Linked DNA regions of Homo sapiens: all the other regions are linked to region 5. The links are contacts of gene promoters, found by promoter capture Hi-C in blood cells and fetal thymus (Javierre and others, 2016). All regions are on one chromosome and are shown on one strand. The core of a region is centred on a gene start or on the middle of the fragment in contact, and the rest is flanking DNA. Distances in the headings are between cores, read along the strand shown. Region 1 overlaps PARP11 (poly(ADP-ribose) polymerase family member 11). Region 2 overlaps PARP11 (poly(ADP-ribose) polymerase family member 11). Region 3 overlaps PARP11-AS1 (PARP11 antisense RNA 1). Region 4 overlaps PARP11-AS1 (PARP11 antisense RNA 1). Region 5 holds the start of AKAP3 (A-kinase anchoring protein 3).

Region 1 (2,700 bases), core at 15-2,514, 840 kb before region 5:
CCTGCCCCCACCAAAATATAGCTATCAGACTTCTGTTTTTAAAATAAATCTTACAAAGAAAACAATTAATAAAACAGATAAAACTGGTTTAATGATTAAAAGTGTGGTTGGACCTGAGTTTTGTTTTGTTCTGTTTTTTTGAGACAGAGTCTTGCTCTGTCTCCCAAGCTGGAGTGCAGTGGCGCGATCTCAGCTCACTGCAACCTCCGCCTCCCAGGTTCAAGCGATTCTCCTCCCTCAGCCTCCTGAGTAGCTGGGATTACAGGCGCGTGCCACCACACCCAACTAATTTTTATATTTTTTTAGTAGAGACAGGGTTTCACCATGTTGGCCAGGCTGATCTTGAACTCTTGACCTCAGGTGATCCACCTGCCTCGACCTCCCAAACTGCTGGGATTACAGGCGTGAGCCACCATGCCCGGCCCTGAGTTTTACTGCTTGGCCCTCCCTCCCGTTTCTATTTCCTTTCACCACTTCCTCACCCTGTTCCCTTGTCAACATCCAGCAAAGCTCTAGAGAGCACAGTGGAAACCGATGGCCTACAGGGATTCTTTTAAACCCCAAGAAACCGTATTTCTATGATATGGGATAACAATTCAGTAATATTTCTGGAAACAATAGAATCCCATATCCATGAAAAGATTTCTGAGAGAGTATAATGCTATTCATATCTGAGCATTCCAAAACAAAAATGATTTTACTGGCTCACTGCCTACACATGAAAACTCGATAAAGCAGCCAACTCTTCTGAAATGGTAGACACAAGAGATAGACATCATTAAGGGCATTCTTACTCTAAAAAAATGTGGAAATGAATTGCAAAGTCTCATATTTACCTAACACTGATGGGATTTATGTAACACCTTCTGACCTCCTTACAGTTAAATAAGTGGAATGGCCTTTTTAGTAGTTATTTTTTAAATTAATTTACATTTTCAAAATGCAGCATATCCTGATCCTAAACAGTAGTCAGTTCTCTTGCTGGAAGCAAGGTACAAAGTAAGGACCAGAAAATTAAATGTACATCCCATACCTTTTCCCCTCACCTCTCTCCTTAATTTGCCTGAGTACCAGACATAAATTGAAAAACTTGGATTTTCACAACATTATAAATAACGTGAAGTTTTCCCCCACTATTCCTTATTGCTCACTAATATTCTTACCTATGATTTTCTTAAAAACAAAATAAAACAAAAACACTAGTATCTATTCTCGTACACAATGCAATTATAATCCATTTGTTTTATCATTCTCTATATATTTGCCATAAAGCAGTTCATATTTATATTTATATTCCTCTAAAAAGAGGAAACTCTCTCCTGGGGCTCAAATTGGACCTGGAATTCTGATAATTACCTTTTCCAAAGACAGCACCATGTATACCATTTATTCTCCAATCAAAGTTATGAATGCAGATTGCTTCCACAAATTCACTGCTGGTACCATGAAACAGCATTTGTTCATTAATCTGAGGCACACCTCTTTTTTTCTTGAGCTGAGCCTTTTTCCTAAAAACACAATATACACAGACACAAAAGCACACAGAAATATACCATAAGTAGCATTTATTAATCTTAATGAGCAAGGTTCAATAGAAAGCGTAAAACAGGAAATACTTTAATATAAATAACAAGTGGACAAAGCAAGTCTAGAAAAGAAATAATTTCAAATGTTCTTGGACACATAAATCATCTCATCAAAAATTATTAGTTAACACTGAAACTTAAGGTTGAAAATTATGCCAAAAACTATAGTTATCCCATGCTATGCCCCAATATCATAAAGGTAATTGATTGTCTAAACCAGCTAACCTTTATAGATGCCTAAAAATGAGACAACAAACAAGTAATACAAAGTTTGCAGAGACTTTAGACAGTGAATTCCTTGAGCAGGGATCATGTCATATGCTTTTTATCCTCAGAAACTAGAAAATGTTGGTTCAGTTGACTAAATTTTGCACCATAGGGTTGGGAGGGACATTAAGCCATCCAGTTTAATCCTCTTCCCAAGGATAAATCTATCCTAACACATAAAAGCATATTTAATGTAGGACTGATTGTAACAGAAAACAAAAACTGAAAACAGCCTAAAATTATTTCACAGAGAAATGAATATAGTCATGTATTTACATATAAAAGTTAAAAGTAATGAAGTAGATCTATGTGCATTAACATAGTAAATCTTAAAAAATAATATTGAATGTAAAAAGAATTTTGCAAAAAGAGATAGAGAACTCAAAATAATACTGTGTATTATGTAGGTATACATACACAGGTAGTAAAAAATACAAAATACAAACAATAAGGCACCATACCAATCTCAGGAGGAAAGAAGGAGAGTAGGACAGGGATGGAGTAAACACTTCACCTGTATCTGTGTGAAGAGGAAGGAAATGTGACAAGTATCAAAATGTTAAATCTGATTGGTAGATACATGGGAGTCTGCAAACTATTTGCTGCATTTTCATTCTTGAAACATTTCATAAAAATCATATTTTAAAAATTAAAAAGAATCCCCTCCCCCGGCTTCTGATAGCTCTTTAATGCCTGCTTCAATTCATCCAGTGTCAAGTACTCACAGCATCACGTGCTCACTTTGCAAAACAGCACAATTTATTTGTGATCAGCTGTAATAGTTGGAAAGTACATCCATCTCAATGCCAAACCAAATCTGCCTTCTGTTACTTCTATTGATTGGTCT
Region 2 (2,700 bases), core at 201-2,700, 790 kb before region 5:
AACATAAAGATGTAACAGTTATAAAGATAACATGCATTTGCAAGTGATGAAATTGGATATTTGGCTGAGGAAACCTCTAAACAATTTGCTGAAGGAGTGGCCTGGGTCCTCCTGACTGCTTAAATAGAACGCAAGAAGAGAGAATGACTTAAAGACAGAATTATTAAGCAAAAAAGAACCAGTACTTAAAGATGCAGAAAATTCTCAACCTACCCATATTGAAAAGAATGAGAAAGTCTGTTCAGAGGACAACACTAAGGTTGTGGTCAAATGATCATTTGATAAGATTAGTATGGATGTGGACCGCCCCAGCAGGACAACTGCCAATTTGAAATGAAAAAATAGTAGATGGGAAGAAATGAAGGAGGGTTGGTAGACTTCTTGGATTTTTCAGGATGGGACCATAGAGCAATTCAGCTGCAAATGTGTGCTCTTCTTTAAGACAAGGAAGGACCCTAAAAGCAATTCAGAGATCATCCGGGATGCTTCCTTGGTTCAACAAAAGAAGGGACCACTGCCTTGCTTTCAATAGGCCAGATGGCTCATGAGGGCTGGACCTCTCAAAGCCCAGGGATTGTGACCAACCCCATCAGAGGGTCCAGAAGGCAGCACTTCCACTTCTCTGGAAGGCAGAGCATCAAGCCAATCATTCATTTTGTAGCCTTAAGATTTCATGGAACTTGCTCGGGACCTGTCACCCCTTTCTTCCTTCCTTTTTCTCCCTTTCAGAATGGAATGTCTACCCTATGACTAGCACACCACTATATTTTTTAACTTTTTAATTTTTTTAGAGACAGGGTCTTGCTCTGTTGTCTTGCACTTTAGTCTTGTCCAGGCTAAAGTGCAGTGACACATCATAGCTCACTGCAACCTCGAACTCCTAGTATCAAGTGATCCTTGTGCTTCAGCTTCCTGAGGAGCTGGGACTACAAGCACATGACACCACGTCTGGCCAATTAATTTTTCAATTTTTTCAGAGACAGTCTTGCCATGTTGCTCAGGCTGGTCTTCAACTCCTGGCCTCAAGTGATCCTCCCACCTCAGCCTGCCAGGTAGCTGGGATTACAGGCACAAGCCACCAAACTCAGACCACCATTGCATTTTGGAAGCACATATTTGGTTTCACAGGGTCACAGCTGGAGGAGAATTTGCCTCAGGATGAATCATACCTTGGGCTCAACTGCATCTGATTTAGATAATATTTAGATGAGATGTTGGACTTTAAAGTTGATGCTGGTATCAGTTAAGACTCTGGGGTGATTGGGATAAAATGAATGTAATTTGCATGCAACGAAGACACAAATTTTTCGTGGAGGGAAGGGCCAGGGCCAGAATGTTATAGACTAAACGTTTGTGTCCTTGCCAAATTATTATGTTGAAATTCTAACTCCTAATGTGATATGAAAATGGGGCCTTTGGGAGGTGATTAGATCATGAAGGCAAAGTCCTCATAAATGGCATTAAGGCTTTTCTTAATATTTGCCAATCTGATAGATGGGCAGTATTGTGGTTCTATTTTCCATTTCCCTAAAGAATAATGATGTTGAACATCTTTTCATGTTGTTATTTTCCATCTGCTTATCTTCTTTGGTGCAGTGTCTATTCATATCTTTAGCTCACTTTAAAAAATTGAGTTCCTTCTCTTGAGATTTCAGAGTTCTTAATATATTCTATGTACAAGTCATTTATCAGATATATGCTTTTTAAATACTTTCTCCCGTCTGTGGCTTATCTTTTCATTCTCCTAGAAGCATGTTTTCAACAGCAGAAGTTTTTAATTTTGATAAAGTCTGTTTTATCACTTTTTTTTTTCATCGATCATAGTCCTGGCATTGTAGCTAAAAAGAATCTTTGTGGCCAGGCGTGGTGGCTCACGCCTGTAATCCCAGTACTTTGGGAGGCCGAGGCGGGCGGATCACGAGGTCAGGAGATTGAGACCATCCTGGCTAACACGGTGAAACCCCGTCTCTACCAAAAATACAAAAAAATTAGCCAGGCGTGGTGGAGGGTGCCTATAGTCCCAGCTACTCGGGAGGCTGAGACAGGAGAATGGCGTGAACCCAGGAGGCAGAGCTTGCAGTAGGATGAGATAGCACCACTGCACTCCAACCTGGTTGATGGAGCGAGACTCCGTACCTAACCAATGCTGGCAGAAACCACACCAAAAAAACAAGCAGATGGAAAATACATGAAAAGATGTTCAACATGATTAGTCATTAGAGAAATACAAATTTTAAGATTTGAAAAAGATTTTTCTCAGCCAGGCATAGTGGCTCATCCCTGTAATCACAGCACTTTGGGAGGCTGCACCCAGAAGATTGAGACCAGGAGTTTTAGACTAGATCACTTGAAGTCAGTAGTTTGAGACTAGCCTGGGGAACATAGCAAAACCCCATCTCTACAAAAAATTTAAAAATTAGCTGGGCATGGTAGCATGCACCTGTAGTCCCAGCTACTTGGGAGACAGGCAAGAGGATTGCTTGAGCCCAGGAGTTCAATGTTACAATGAGCTATGATCACACCACTGCACTACAGCCTAGGCAACCAAGCATGACTCTGTCTCAAAAAAATAAATATATGTATTTTTTTTTCTATTTTTTTCACCTGGAAATTTGTAGTCTTAGATTCTGCATTTAGGTCTATGATCCATTTTTAGTAAATTTTATAGTTTATAAATTTTTCTATACTATATATTTTATT
Region 3 (2,700 bases), core at 105-2,604, 770 kb before region 5:
GCATTTTACCCACAGTAGAACATCTTTCAAAATTGAACTCAATCCTCTCCTCTCAAACTCTGTTGCTGCTATATCAACTGAGTTTGTGAAATATTTTCAGTCCTATGCTGACATTTCAGCAATGTTCACAGCATGATCGGCAGAAGTAGATTCTATCTCAGGAAACTTTCTTTGCTCATCCGTAAGAAGCAACTCCTCATTGGTTCAAGTTTCATCATGAGATTGCAGCAATTCAGTCACATCTTCAGGCTCCATTTCTAATTCTAGTTCTCTTGCTATTTCCATCACATCTGTAGTGACTGCCCTCCACTGAAGTCTTAAATCCCTCAAAGTCTTCCATAAGGACTGCAATCAACTTCTTTCAAACTCCTGTTAATGTTGGCATTTTAATCTTCTCCCATGAATCATGAATATTCTTAATATTATTTTCAATGGTAAATTATATACAAAAGGTTTTCAAATTATTTGTTCAAATCCATCAAAGGAATCACTATATATGGCAGCTATACCTTTACAAAATGTATTCCTTAAATAATAAGACTTGACAGTCAAAATAACTCCTTGATCTATGGGCTACAGAATGGATGGTGTGTTAGCAGGCATGAAAACAACATTAATTTCCTTGTACATCCTTATCTGTGCTCTTGGGTAACCAGGCACATTGTTAATGAGCAATAATATTTTGAAATAAATCTTTTTTTCTGGTGAGTAGATCTCAACAATGGGCTAAAAATATTCAATAAACCATGCTGTCAACAGAGGTGCTGTCATCTAGGCTTTGTTGTTCCATTTCGAGAGCACAGACAGAGTAGATTTAACATCATTCTTAAGGGCTCTAAGGTTTTCAGAAATGGTAAATGAACATTGCCTTCAACTTAGTCATCAGCTGCATTTGCTCCTAAAAAGAGAGTCAGCTTTTTCTTTGAAGCTTTGAGGCCAGGCATTGACTTTTACTCTCTAGCTATGAAAGTGCTAGATGGCATGTTCTTCCAATAGAAGGCTGTTTTGCTTACACTGAAAATCCGTTGTTCAGTGGAGCCACCTTCATCAATAATTTCAACTAGATCTTTTGGATCACATGCTGCAGCTTCTCCACCAGCCCTGTTGCTTCACCTTGCACTTTTATGTTATGGAGATGGCTTCTTTCTTTTTTTTTTTTTCTGTTTTGAGACAGAGTCTCACTCTGTCACCCAGGTTGGAGTGCAGTGGCACCATCTCGGCTCACTGCAAGCTCTGCCTCCCGGGTCTACACCATCCTCCTGCCTCAGCCTCCCGAGTAGCTGGGACTACAGGTGCCCACCACCATACCCAGCTAATTTTTTTGTATTTTTTTAGTAGAGACAGGGTTTCACCGTGTTGGCCAGGATGGTCTTGATCTCCTGACCTCGTGATCCACTCACCTCAGCCCCCCAAAGTGCTGGCATTGCAGGCATGAGCCACTGCGCCCGGCGCATGGAGATCTCTTCTTTCTTAAACCTCATTAACCAACCTCTGATAGCTTCAAGCCTCTTCTGCAGCTTCTTCACTTCTCTCAGCCTTCATAGAATTGAAGAGAGTTAGGGCCTTGCTCTGGATTAGGCTGTGTTGTGGCTGGTTTGATCTTCTATCCAGACCACTGAAACTTTCTCCATAGCAGCAATACAGTTTTTTTCACTTTCTTATCATTGTGTGTTTACTGGAGTAGCACTTTTAAGAATTTTCCCTTTGCATTCACAACTTGGCTGTTTGGTACAACAGACCTAGATGTTGGCCTATCTTGGCTTTTGACACACTTTCCTCACTAAGCTTAATCATTTCTAGTTTTGATTTAAAGTGAGAGACGTGTGTTCTTCCCTTTGCTTAAACACTTAGAGGCCATTGTAGGGTTATTAATTGGCCTACTTTCAATATTGTTGTGTCTCAGGGAATAAGGAGGCCCGAGGAGAGGGAGAGACACAGGGAAAGGGCTGGTTGATGGAGCAGTCAGAACACACACATTTATCAGTTAAGTTTGCTATCTTATATGAGTGCGGTTCATAACATCTTGAAACAATTCTAATAGTAGCACCAAAAATCACTGATCCCAGATTACCATGACAGATAGAATGATAATGAAAAATTTGGATTATTGTGAGCATTACCAAAATGTGACACAGAAACATAAAGAGAGCACATGCTGTTAGAAAATCGGAACTGATAGACTTGCTTGAGCAGGGTGCCACAAACTTTCAGTTTGTTAAAAAAAAAAAAAAAAGAAAAAGGAAAAGAAAAAAAAAAGCAACATCTGTGAAACATGATAAAGCAAAGTGCAATAAATAAAAGAAGGTGCGCCTGCAGACACCATGGAAATAGTGACTAAAGGGAGGATTCACATCTTGGGGAAAACGGGAAGGGAATGGCATGAGATTTCATTATGCTACTCAGAATGGCATGCAATTTTAAACATGAATTATTTATCTCTTGAATCTTAATATTTTCAGGTGATGGTTGACAGCGGAAAACTGAAATCGCAGGAAGTGAAATTGGGGCTGGGGGAATACCATTGTATAGTTGGTTCTCCATACCCATGGGTTACACAATCATGCATTCAACCAACCATGGATCAGAAATATTGAGAAAAAAATAGATGGTTGTGTCTGTACTGACCATGGACATTTTTTTTCTTGTCATTATTCCCTGAACAATACAGTATAACAACTGTTTACGTAGCATCTGTACTGT
Region 4 (2,700 bases), core at 4-2,503, 750 kb before region 5:
CATATTTTCAATGGTCTGTTAGTGGTGTCTAACCACGAAGGCAGGCTTAGCCAGACATTCTGATCGTGCCCAAGAGTCCTATTTAGAAGGTCATATGAACAGGCTCTCTTGCCCATACATACAGGCTTTAAAAAGTTGAATGATGTTCTTGTTAGACTCTGTGGTTTAAGAAACACAGTGCAAAAGGGAGTCCATTATTGGGAATGGAGGATCCTGGGACAAGCTGAGTGAAACAAGCACACTCTTTTTCGGAACCTCTTAAGATTCTGGGAGGCCCTTTCCAGGGGAATAATAAGGCCGAATTGAGTGCAAGAGACATATCTTTGATTTTCATAACCTTTGCTCCCTTCTTTTCCATATGGCAGAAGGCTTTCTCTCAGAAACCAGGAAAAACAATGGAGTATCAGCATAGCCTAAGGCAGTGCAAACTCAAACATCTAACAGGACCAAGCGGGGAATATAAATGAGGGGGAAGGTGGGGATTGGGGCAACCTGGAGAGGGCAGATCGCCACTACTCCACTTGGCCAATGGTTTCCATGGGGGAAATGTAGGGCCAGAGGTTCTCAAAAGTAGCTAGGATTCTAGAAGTGAACGTAAAATCTCCTAAGTTATAAATGTCGGCAATAAATCTAAACATTTTTTTAAATGCCATAGGGTCCAAAAAACACATCTTTGGGTGGAATGGTTTTGTGAGCTGCTTACCTATACCCGTAATGTAGGAAAAAGCACATGAGCAGTCCAATCACACTGCCTGAGTTTGACCCTTGGTTCTACCCACTGGTTTACAAAGTTACTCTAAGTCACTTAACTTAAGCTTCATTTTTCTCCATCTCTAAATCAGGACAGTGCTTCCAGGACTGACATGAAGATTAAATGAAAGAACGTAGTTGCTACTCAATATTAATTGTCCTTGTTTTTTGGATCTCTGCTCCCTCCCTTTTTTCTCATTGCACAATGAACTAGAAAAAACAGTTCCTCCACATTCTTATTTAAAGCAAACTAAGCAACGCTTTTTATCATTTGTCAGATTTTTTTTTACCATGATGAGCCTAAATACACTGTACTGGTTTCTAATCAGACCTCATTTGCAGCTGTGATTTTTGTGGTGGTTGTTGTTGTTGTACTATTTTGTTTTGTTTTGTTGTTTTGTTTTCAAAGAATGAGAGGACAGAAGAAGCATTAAAGCAACATTCTTTCCAAAATTAAATTCTGGCAATACAGTCTCCAGTGATCCTGACTAGGAAGCAAAGGGAAGACCCCGAGCCAGCAGGGGAAGCCCTCCAGCACTCTCAGGTTTTCAAAGAGCCTTTACAAAAGCACTAAGCAGGGCACATCACCGGAGAAGAAAAGCAAAGAGTGTCACAGGCTTGTAGCCATAGTGTTAGCAAGGCTGGGGCTCAGAATGAGCTGAGACTTGCAAAAAATGCTCAGGAACAGCAAAAAGAGCTTTGTGCAAGTATATTCTGAGCAGGAAGAATAGGGAAGGGCCAGATCCTGTGCTTGGGGCAGATGGTGTAATGCTAGCAGATGACAGATACAAAGCAGAATTATGCAACTCCTACTTAGCTTCCATCATCTCTATCTCTCAGAATGATCTTCAAACTGGAAAGAACAATATAAACACTGCAAAGAAGCAATTGCAGCCCTAGTTATGAAGCTCTTTAGAAAATGAATACCTGGGCTCTCTAAATAAGCTTAGATCTCCAGGCCCTGACAAATTCCATCCCTGGGGACTGAAAGAATTTGTAGATTTAATCATAGAATGATTGTCAGTAATCTTTCAGGAATCTCAGGAGTGATGCCAGAAGATTAGTGATGGGCAACTGTCCGAGTTGTCAAAAGGGGAAATATGTAGGTTTGGGGAACTTTGCACTGTTGAGTTTAACTTTGATCCCCAGCAAACTGTAAGCTGCATTATTAAGGAGTTAGATTACAATCGCTTTGAAAAGGAAGTGGTAATCTCAAGAAGCCAGCACAGGTTATGTAGAACAAACCATGTCATACTAACATCACTTCACATTTTTTTCTTTTTTGAAAGATTACCAAAACTCTCAAGATTGTCCCAGAGGTAGTGAATCTTTCAACAGGGCTTCCGACAACACATTTTATGGTACAATGAATGGATAGGGCCTGGGTGATCTATGGCTTGGTGAAGGCACAGCTAGGCAAACCATTGTATCCAAAAAGCACTGGACAGGCGGGGCCAAGTCAACTCAGAGAGAGGTGTAGCACAAGATGCCGCTAGTCCTTGTTTGGTGCCCGGTTCTGTGAAAATCCTTTCAATGACATGAAAGAGATGCCAACATATAAATATGAGTTGACACAAAATGAAGAAGTCTAAGTAATATGCCGCATGACAGAAACAGGATATGGTGGTTTGCCTGAACAAGGAGCCAAAATAAGCATGATGGAATTTAATGGAGAAAATGCAAGTTCTTCATATTGATTAAAAAAAAAAAAACTCAGTTATTCAAATTATTGACAATAGTTAATGGGAAAAAGTCTTGAAGATTGTAGTTAACAAAAAGCCCAACATGAGCCAAAAAATTCTGACATGGCTACAAAACAACTAGTGTTTGCCAGGTAGCATAAGGGGAATTGTAACAGGCAGAGCAAGGGTGATGAGGGTGCCATTGGCCCATCTGCCTCAGAGCATGAGGGCTTATTCCTGGTACCATGTTTCTTCTTCACATTCAACT
Region 5 (2,700 bases), core at 1-2,500:
AAGGTTTTTTTCTCTCTTCCAATTCAATTTGTTAGGCGACACTTCAGTAAACAGTAGGGGCAAGATAGAGTGGAAACAGCCAAGATTTCAAGCCTAGTAATAAGCAACTTCTACATCCCTACTCATCACAGGCCTTTTTGTCTATCCCAGAAACACATACTTTTCCTGAAAAAACAAAGCACTGGAAGGATTACCAAGTCTAGAAAGAACCCGCCCTCCCCAAACTAGGTGGTTTTCTGATAAGCCTAAGGTATGTTTCACAGGATCACTGGTTGCCATCTCCTACCCAGCAATCTGGAGAGGTTGACCAGAATAAAGTATTTTAAAATCCAAGCGCTTAGTCTAACCTGGAATTTCCTCAGTTTCTAGATGGCTCTTTGTAGAACAATGCAGATTCTCAAAGGTGACCACAGTTAAAGAAAAAATTACAAGCCATTGCGCTAGAGAGAGCCATCTGCAGTTTCTCCTTAGACAGATGTTCAGATGGCACACATGGCCACTAAATTTGCATAATATTTCAGGAAGTTCACAGATTTCCCGAAGCCCACTCATGAATCACACTTCTGGTTAAGAACTCCTAGATTCATATGCTAGTTGGTGATAAGTGCTTTGGTATATAAACTTAAACCAAAAATTGGTGGAATAATTACCACCTTGGATAGGATGGTCAGAGAAGTTTTATCCGAAGAGGTCACTTTTGAGCAGAGACTTGAGCTGGTGCAGACACCTGAGTGTGCATTCCAGGAAACGCGAACAGCAGGCGCAAGGGTCCCTATGAGAGAATGTGCTTGGCGGGCTCGACGCACATTTATTTACTTGGGACACACCCTATTTTGGTTTCTCTTCTCCACTTTTCCCCTCGTTCTTGTCCCCCCTTTTCTCTCTCCTGGGCCCTGGATCTCCTGAGCGCGGAGGGCTACGCCTCCTTCTTCCTCCGGACTCACCAGGGCTGCCAGCTTAGCTTACATTTTCAGGGAACAGGAAACTGAGAGTCAGGAAAGGTGAGCTCTTCTACCTCGGGTCTTGCCATTTTGCATGTCCTGAGTCAGTCACTGGTTAACTCTGAACTTCAGGTTCCTCGGCAATTAGAGATTATAAATAGCCTATACAGCCTATTCCAGATCTGAGATTCCAACAGCCAAAGTCTTTTCACTTCCTTTCTTCCCCCTCTCCTTCACTTTCCCAGCTTTCTTCTTAACCAACAATCTACCCGAAACCGTCGTTTCTTGGTTAGCGCTTGCGCAGACAGGCGAGAAAGGTAAGTTTTGACCCAGCTTAGCAGCCGTAGTCAGCCGGGAGTGCTGTCGTGGGGGATTGTGGGAAAAGATGGCGGCTGCCGCACAATCCCGGGTTGTCCGGGTCCTGTCAATGTCACGTAAGTGTTACCGGGAACGGCGGCCCCTGGTCGGGATTCCGAGACGGGGATTTAAGGTTTTGGAAGTGGCACCGTGCTGCAGCGGTCACGCCAACTTCCTAGGCACACTCTGGTTTCTCTAGGTTTGGAGCTGCCTCAGTCTGGTTTCTCCTTTCGCTTTCCGCTTCCCCGGCTCACATATTCAATTGTGCACCACCTTGGGAGGGGACAAAAGATCTTAAGCAGCTGTAAGCGAAGAGGAGAATGCGGGGGACACGTTAGGGATCGAGAGAATCAGAATTCTGATATGGTTGTAAGGGTTTAGGGTTATGAGAAATATTTGTATGGGGCGGGGGGAGAAATGTGTAAGGGAGGGAAAAAAGGCTAGTGGCGAGAGGTTTTCTTAGATTGATTTTATGACCTTGTGCAAACCCTTAATGGGTCTCAATTCATATGAGCACAATGGAAATGATAATATTACAATACCAGGGAGTCTCTGATAAGATTAAATGAGCTAATATTTGTAAAAGCATCCTTTTACCCAAAAGCGTCTCTACGGATGTAGAATGTGTTCGGCAAAGTGCGTTGGGGTCTGGGGGAGAGAGTGATGTTTGAGGAGAGAAGAATCAGGAGCTTGGTGGAAAGGAAAGTGAAGAATGAAGGCTATGTTAGAATTTGTTAGCATTATTTAGTTTCTCTTCTGTTCTGATTGGATCTGCTCCCACTCCTCAAACTGAAAACATACATTTGTCCTTCCACTCACTAAAAAGCAAGGAAATTAGAAATACGGTTACACTTCATCATTGTCCTTTCACCCTCTACTCTTCCACAAACATATTCCAATCAAACCCCCAAAGTTGTATTTTTCTTAGTGTATTTTAGTCGTTACAGAATATCATTTGCTTTCAAAATTGGCTCATGTCAGAATCACTCGTAAAGCTTTATAAAAATTAGAAATGAGGACTGAGTGTAGAGCTATTGAGTCAGAATTTGTGAGATTAGCTCCTTGCACCTTAAATTTTTAAAAGCACCACAGATAGGCTTGATGTTCAGCCTGAGGCAAGAATTAGGAGTGTTTAGAGGATCCTTTTTTTTTTGTTTTCCATCTTGGGTAGAACTCCTGCATACCACTGGGAAGGTGGTGGTGCACATCACTTATAGTGGATGGTTTTGTAGTCACAATGTCTTTGCAAAGACATTTGCTGGTTCTTGTTAAACTATTACAATTGTATGACGTAATGTAGATTGTGAATGGTAATCACTATTTATTGAGTACCTGCTATCTGCAATCTCCAGTTCTAGGTATTTTTATTAATTTTCCTCTTTTAACTTACTTTCCTCTGACT

Evidence for each region. The method cuts DNA at HindIII sites, captures the fragments that hold promoters and counts their contacts. A CHiCAGO score of 5 or more calls a contact.
Region 1: a fragment that was not itself captured here is called in contact with the fragment with the promoter of AKAP3 in region 5 in 2 of 17 cell types (activated CD4 T cells and total CD4 T cells); the score reaches 5.7 in activated CD4 T cells.
Region 2: a fragment that was not itself captured here is called in contact with the fragment with the promoter of AKAP3 in region 5 in 5 of 17 cell types (naive CD8 T cells, total CD8 T cells, total B cells and 2 more); the score reaches 5.7 in naive CD8 T cells.
Region 3: a contact is called between a fragment that was not itself captured here and the fragment with the promoter of AKAP3 in region 5, in 1 of 17 cell types (total CD8 T cells). The highest score is 5.1, in total CD8 T cells.
Region 4: a fragment that was not itself captured here is called in contact with the fragment with the promoter of AKAP3 in region 5 in 1 of 17 cell types (naive CD4 T cells); the score reaches 5.9 in naive CD4 T cells.

What each region holds. Positions count from the first base shown.
Region 1 is chr12:3,812,681-3,815,380 of GRCh38, forward strand. PARP11 (poly(ADP-ribose) polymerase family member 11) reads right to left here. Exons shown (of 8, transcript NM_020367.6): 7 at 1,357-1,508. Among named protein-coding and RNA genes, the nearest start is that of PARP11-AS1, 56 kb to the right of the region's middle. The HindIII fragment of the contact is 3,710 bases long and covers 1-2,700 here.
Region 2 is chr12:3,859,888-3,862,587 of GRCh38, forward strand. All of the region lies in intron 1 of PARP11 (poly(ADP-ribose) polymerase family member 11), which reads right to left. Among named protein-coding and RNA genes, the nearest start is that of PARP11-AS1, 8.9 kb to the right of the region's middle. The HindIII fragment of the contact is 5,372 bases long and covers 1-2,700 here.
Region 3 is chr12:3,877,810-3,880,509 of GRCh38, forward strand. All of the region lies in intron 1 of PARP11-AS1 (PARP11 antisense RNA 1), which reads left to right. Among named protein-coding and RNA genes, the nearest start is that of PARP11, 5.8 kb to the left of the region's middle. The HindIII fragment of the contact is 857 bases long and covers 927-1,783 here.
Region 4 is chr12:3,895,559-3,898,258 of GRCh38, forward strand. All of the region lies in intron 1 of PARP11-AS1 (PARP11 antisense RNA 1), which reads left to right. Among named protein-coding and RNA genes, the nearest start is that of PARP11, 24 kb to the left of the region's middle. The HindIII fragment of the contact is 880 bases long and covers 814-1,693 here.
Region 5 is chr12:4,647,801-4,650,500 of GRCh38, forward strand. It overlaps AKAP3 (A-kinase anchoring protein 3), which reads right to left and starts at 1,251. Exons shown (of 6, transcript NM_001278309.2): 1 at 945-1,251. It overlaps NDUFA9 (NADH:ubiquinone oxidoreductase subunit A9), which reads left to right and starts at 1,314. Exons shown (of 11, transcript NM_005002.5): 1 at 1,314-1,375. The coding sequence starts at 1,327. RefSeq lists enhancers at 676-725, 1,006-1,215, 1,084-1,739. The HindIII fragment of the contact is 2,310 bases long and covers 1-2,291 here.